Linked DNA regions of Homo sapiens: region 2 is linked to region 1. Evidence: promoter capture Hi-C in 16 types of primary human blood cells and fetal thymus (Javierre and others, 2016). All regions are on one chromosome and are shown on one strand. Each heading gives the region's core, a stretch centred on a gene start or on the middle of the fragment in contact. The rest is flanking DNA. Distances are from core to core; before and after follow the strand shown. Region 1 holds the start of LHX2 (LIM homeobox 2). Region 2 overlaps DENND1A (DENN domain containing 1A).

Evidence for each region. Contacts are between HindIII fragments. The CHiCAGO score rates a contact against its expected background, and 5 or more counts as called.
Region 2: a contact is called between a fragment that was not itself captured here and the fragment with the promoter of LHX2 in region 1, in 1 of 17 cell types (M1 macrophages). The highest score is 6.5, in M1 macrophages.

The regions. Positions count from the first base shown.
Region 1 is chr9:124,009,923-124,013,223 of GRCh38, forward strand. LHX2 (LIM homeobox 2) reads left to right here and starts at 1,846. Exons shown (of 5, transcript NM_004789.4): 1 at 1,846-2,546. The coding sequence starts at 2,427. RefSeq lists a silencer at 1,770-1,819 and an enhancer at 2,758-3,301. The HindIII fragment of the contact is 7,434 bases long and covers 1-3,299 here.
Region 2 is chr9:123,757,889-123,760,785 of GRCh38, forward strand. All of the region lies in intron 4 of DENND1A (DENN domain containing 1A), which reads right to left. Among named protein-coding and RNA genes, the nearest start is that of DENND1A, 170 kb to the right of the region's middle. The HindIII fragment of the contact is 1,691 bases long and covers 638-2,328 here.

The sequences.
Region 1 (3,301 bases), core at 596-3,095:
CCTGAGCACGCAAGTGCAGGTATAACGTGCAATTTACCATTTTGCAGTTGCATCCTTCTTCCCAGCTCTAGACACTTACACCTGATGCGCATGTGTAAGACCCTAGCTCTTCAGTGGTGCTGGCTGTGATTTTGCCAACAGAGATAAAATTCGTGCTGGCTGTGTTATTGCCAACAGAGATGAACATGTGTATTTGCACACATGAACACAAGTTCATGTGCTTGGGCATTACACGCATACATATATTTGTGCACACATATATTTGTGTGTGAAAGTTACTTACACACGTGAAAAACATGATTTCATGCCTCAACTCTGTACCCTGTGAGGTAAACCGCAGGTCCTGACTATCCCCTTACCTGTCCTGGCAAACAAGTCATTTCAGACTGACACCCGCCTTGTCCCTATTAGACGGAGCCAAACCTGCCTCCGAAGCAGACCCAGATGGGACTCTGTAACCGAAGTGCTTATTCAGTTTTTGTCTACAATCATTTTATTTCCTAAATCCCTCCCCCACCAGACACCTGGGTATTTCCCTCCAGTCCCCAGGAGACTCTAGGGTGAGCCTGAAACCTGGAGGCTGGGGGTAGCAGTTGGGATTTACCCAGCACGCTACTTTGTTGGCCCCTGGGGAGGTGGTGCAGCCAGGCGGGTAAGGAGGACTCGCGCCATCAGCGGGGTCTGAGACATGGTGTGCCCAGTGGGCAGAGAATAGGCCTGTGGTTTTTAAGAACCTCACTGATATCGAATGTGTCTTGGAGTGAGAAAGTTTTTAATGGAAAAGGAGCAAGAGAGAGTAATGAAATAATTTGCTAAGTGCCTACTATGTTCCAGGCATTTTACATCCACAGTCTCTTTCAATCAACACGTCCATGCGGAGGAGAGCTTCTTGTCGCCCATTATAAAGGTCAGAAACAGGCTAAGGGAGGATAAGTCACTGCCTAAGGTTACAGTGCATGTAAATGGCAGAGCTAGGATTCGAACCCTGGCCTTTCTGAGTTCCTAAAGCCATGCTCGCCCCCACTCTTCCAGGCTGGGGAGAGACCGGGAAGAGCGAGAAGCTACACGCTGGGCTGCAGATTGGGCCCTAGCGGGCTTGGAGCGTGGATATGCTGGCTGGCCCCCCTCCCCGGGAGTCACAGCTCTCGCCGGTCTCGCCACTCAGGCTCTGCCGGGTACCCAGGAGGCTTGCACGGCCGCCTGCAGCCCGCTGTGCAGAGCCCGGGCCGAAGGCGGAGCTCGATGGGAAACGGCCGGCCGAAGGCTCTTGCAACTCTGCCACAGGCCTGCCTTCCCGGGCCTCCCAGGCGGGTGCCTGAGGCCGCGGCTCCAGGCCGAGGGGAGACCGCAGTGAGACGAGCATCCCCTTGCTGCGCCTTCTTAGGATAGAGGGTTTAATTTTCCTTTCTGAAGATATCGCAGGAAGCTGTTCGTATCTTAAAAACTCCAAACCCCGCGCTCTCCCTCCTCCCTGCCTCCCCCCCACCCCCGCCCTCCAGCCTCGCCCACCAGCTCCCACCATCTCGACTCTCCTCTGCTCCTCTTGCCTCTCCCCTCCCTCTTGGGTCTCCCGCCTTCCCGGAGCACGCGCTGCCAGGGCCTGGGGCGCCGAGCGGCCAATGGCACGGCGGCAGGACGTGATGTCAGGCGCGGCTGTAGAAAAGGCGCGGAGGCTTGCGCTGGCGCGGACTGCAGAGCCGGGGCTGGGCTAGGCGCGCGCTTGGAGAGCATTGCGCGCGGCTGGGCCCGCGGCCGGCGGCTCCTCCTCCCACTCTGCTCCTCCTCTTTTTTCTCCTCCTCCACCTCCTCCTCCGCCTCCTCCTCCTCCTCTTCCTCCTCCTCTTCAATTCTCCCGGTGGCTCGACTCGGCTCGCAGGCTTCGGAGAAACCCCTACTCCAGTCGCCGACTCAGCGCCCAAGAGGGTCGCCTTGGGCTGGGGGCGCACCCCAGGGAGGGGAGGGGTCCAGGCAGCTGGGCCGCCGCGGACACCTAGCGGCTTCAGGGTGAACCCCGACCGCAGCCGTCGCCGCCTCGGGCAGAGTTTGCGCCCTTGCTTTGCGCCCCGGGCGCTGAAGCCGGGCGGGCGATGCCCGCGGCGTGAAAGCGCCCGCGGCGGGCGCCGACCTCTGTCCTAGTCTCCTGCTCCCCCCGCCCCGCTTGTCCCGTGCCCTTGTGACCCTGGCTTTGGCGCCGTCGCCCAGGCGCCCCGCAATGTAGCTGCCCCTGCGCCTCGGCGGGAGGCGTCCTGCCCCGCGAGCGCCCGGGGCCCGGAGCCCGGCCTGGGGGCTCAGCCGAGCTCGGGCGGGGCCGGGGCCGCGGTGGCGATGCACCGGGCCCGTTAGCGCCAGGAGCGCCAGGCAGCTGAGGCGGGGGGCAAGCCCTCCCTCGGAGGAGCCGCGCCCCCGGCCCCGCCGGTCCCGCCGCGATGCTGTTCCACAGTCTGTCGGGCCCCGAGGTGCACGGGGTCATCGACGAGATGGACCGCAGGGCCAAGAGCGAGGCTCCCGCCATCAGCTCCGCCATCGACCGCGGCGACACCGAGACGGTAGGCGCGCGGCTGTGGGGTCGGGGCTGAGAGCTGGGATGGGGCCGGGCCAGTCAGCGCCTCTGCTCCCCGAAGTTTGGGGAGCGTCCTTCGTGCCGCACGGGACTGGGTGCTGGGGATCCTCGGTCAGAATGCAAGGCCGGTGGCTCCCGGTTCGGGGGAAACCCGGCTGCTGGGACGCAGAAGGGAAACAAGGTTGAAACCGAAATCTCGGCCCTGGGGGTAGAGGAGAGCGTTTCTTCCGAACTGGAAGCGAAGTCCCATCCGCGGCCCGGGGCGGCTCCCTTCTCACCTTGCCCGGTGCCGGGGTCGACAGCCCCGCGCTCTCCTCCACCTCTCGGCTCCGGTTGCTGGCGGCGCCGCGAGCGGCGCCAGGGAAGGGCGAACCAGCTGGGAGCATTGGGGCTCCAGCCGGCTTGGGCCGCTCCCAGCTTTCCGGCAATCGGGGATCCTCCTCAACCCCCAGCGCAGTTTCAGAGGCCGAAGTCTTCGGGGCCAACATTTGTCGTTGATCGCGTCCCCAGACCCTTGACTGGTCAGACTTAGCCAGGCCAGGGCTGGGAGTTCAGGCTCCGGCCTGGCCCTCGCCGAAGGAGACTCCATTTGGATCTCTACACCTGGCTCCGCGGGCCCAGCCCCAAATAGCCAGTTCCTCGCCTCAGGCCTCCCTGGGGGCCAGACGAGCAGACACTGCCCGACCAGCGGGCCCAGAAGTGACCTTTAGGAGGCCGCGGAGGTGGGGAGCACGGGAGAAG
Region 2 (2,897 bases), core at 233-2,732, 250 kb before region 1:
ACAATGAGTCGTTGAACTTATAACATTTCCTCTCTCAGTGGAACTCTTAAAATTTACACATTTCAAGGGAACAGACTGTAAGCTAGTTAAAAAAAAAAAAAAAAAAAAGACAGCCAGCAGCCTATTCTAGTGACCACCTCAGAAATCAAATAATCAGAGCTATCATACCTTCTCCTTACTGAGTTCAGTCTCTGAGGCAGCTCTGTTAGTCAGCCCATCAATTCCGAAAGGTGCCCTCTATTAACCTCATTTTGCTGATGAAGAAATAGTCTAGAGAGGCATTGCCTAAGGTCAGCTGATCAGTGGCAAAAAGCTGGATTTTAACCCTCGCGCTGATTCCACAGGCCACTCTACCAGCTTGCTGCTAACAATCCTCACCTGAGAACTTCCCTAGTTCAGAAAATAAGAGTGCTTGCCAGAGCAAAAGGTAAATGTTACTATGTGCCAGCCACAAAGTTAGACATCATATATGCGTAGACCATCTCCCTGACTCTCAGGACAACCATGGAATTTAGAGGATGTTCCCATTTTACAGAAAAGGAAACTAAGGACCAGAATACATCCTTAGTAACTGAATCACGTTCACACAGCTACAAAGAGGAGGAGCTGAAATTGAAACTGGAAAGAAAACAGGGCAAGCTTAGGTGTTACTTTCCTAAATTCCTATATCTTTCATAATTTCTGAATTTATGAGAAACATATTTCCTATTTTAGAGGACAGAAATAACCAAAATGTCTAGCATTGCATGGTGTTTTCTAAGAAATGGAAACAACATTTTAAAGAAAGACGTTAAAGGAAAAAAGCTAAAAATATATCAATACAAAAATTTAAAAACCACACATAAACGCAACATTAAAATATCTATTTTTAAAAATTTTAAAAACAATACTAATCAGATTACAGAAACTCTTTGTTTTGTTTTTCTGTTTTGAGATGTAGTCTCGCTCTGTTGCCAGGCTGGAGTGCAGTGGTGTGATCTCAGCTCACTGCAACCTCCACCTCCCTGGTTCACACAATTCTCCTGCCTCAGCCTCCCGAGTACCTGGAACTACAGGTGCCCGCCACCATGCCCAGCTAATTTTTTTATATTTTTAGTAGAGACGGGGTTTCTCCATGTTAGCCAGGATGGTCTTGATCTCCTGACCTCGTGATCCACCTGCCTCGGCCTCCCAAAGTGCTGGGATTACAGGCGTGAGCCACCGCGCCCGGCCAAACTCTTTTTTTAAAGTTGTAAAATGTCTAAAAATCCAGTTTTTAAAATCAGTTTACCAGTTAGCTTGGATTTCATTCCATTTTAAAAATTTAAACATCCCGCTTCCGTCACAGTTATGGCGGCTAAGGCTACCACCTACTTGCCCAGCTGTTGCTGCTAGAGCTTGTAGACAAATGTATAGGCTCAAGAATTCACATTGTGGTGAAGAGTCATTAAGAAATCGTGGGTACTCTTCTAGGAGTTGATGACTTTGTCAAGATGGACTAGAAGAGGTCACTGAGTTTGAAATCACACCAGAAGGAAGAAGTACTATTGTTGTTATTATTATTACTATTACTTTGAGACACAGTCTTGTTCTGTCACCCAGGCTGGGGTACAGTGGCACAATATTGGCTCACTGCAACCTCTGCCTCCCGGGTTCAAGTGATTCTCATGTCTCAGCCTCCTGAGTAGCTGGAATTTCAAGCGTGCACCAACACGCCCAGCTAATTTTTGCATTTTTAGTAGACAGAAGGTTTTGCCATGTTGGCCAGGCTGGTCTCAAACTCCTGGCCTTAAGTGATCCGCTTGCCTCAGCCTCTCAAAGTGCTGGGATTACCGCCTGGCCAGGAAGAAGTATAATTAAATTAGAGCAGATTTTGCTAAGTGGAAATAATATAACAATGCTAGTTCCTGTCAGAGAAGAACCTGAAGAGTGAATGGGTTTCCCTACCTTATGCTAGATTCAGTTTTGTCTTATAATGGCAACAAAATAGAATTTGCTTTTTACCTTTAAATGCTTAGATCCCATAAAGCTAAATTTCGCATTCAAGGGAAATCCTTTGAAGATGTATATCCATTTTTGTAAGTTACAGTAATTATCTCAGAAAAAGAAGAAAAGAGTTTTTTCTCTGAAGATTAAAATAAAGGTATTTTTGGTTAAAAAATCCAAATTCTAATACATGAATTTATATTAACGTAATATGCTAGAATTCAACACTGAGTTATTCAAAGGAACTCATCAACTCATATTGTATTTTACAAAGTGTATTCAAATTGGTAAAATAGTCAAATCTATGCTATCAATTATTACTTTATAAATTATCAGAAGAAATTTAAAAATCATGGTTTACCAAGCTTTTTCCAAAGGTAGAATTCTTATTGAGTCTTTGGATATGATATGAATAAAGTTTTCAAAGATAGGGTAGACTTTCTAAAACTCCCTTATACAGCCACATAAATAATTAAAATTAAAGGAATTTTCAAGGTATTCCAATACAAAGGTCAATGGACTCTGCCTGGTCATATTTAAGGAGACAACTCCATCTCTTAGAGAGTGGTTAGAGAGTACAAGAAAATAATTCAGAAAGAAAAAGTGTTCCACTCTCCTTATTTAACTAGGAAGGTGAACAAAAACAAGGTGGCAATTTAAAAGCAACGTGGTCATAAAGCAGGTGTAAGTAATGCTATCCCTCCACCTTACACAGCCAGGAGAAGAAACACATTTCTATAAAAGTTATAGGGCCGTCAAGGGGACACCAAACGCTACCTTCCTATGCCTGTTATGTTTTATCCATAAAGCTTGGATACTGTGTTACTATGGTGATTTAATACTATGTTTTAAAGGGGGATTATATGATTAATTTTAACAAGGTTGAGAACTGAAGATGTGTGAGAAACAGCATTCTAGCTCACATAATTAAA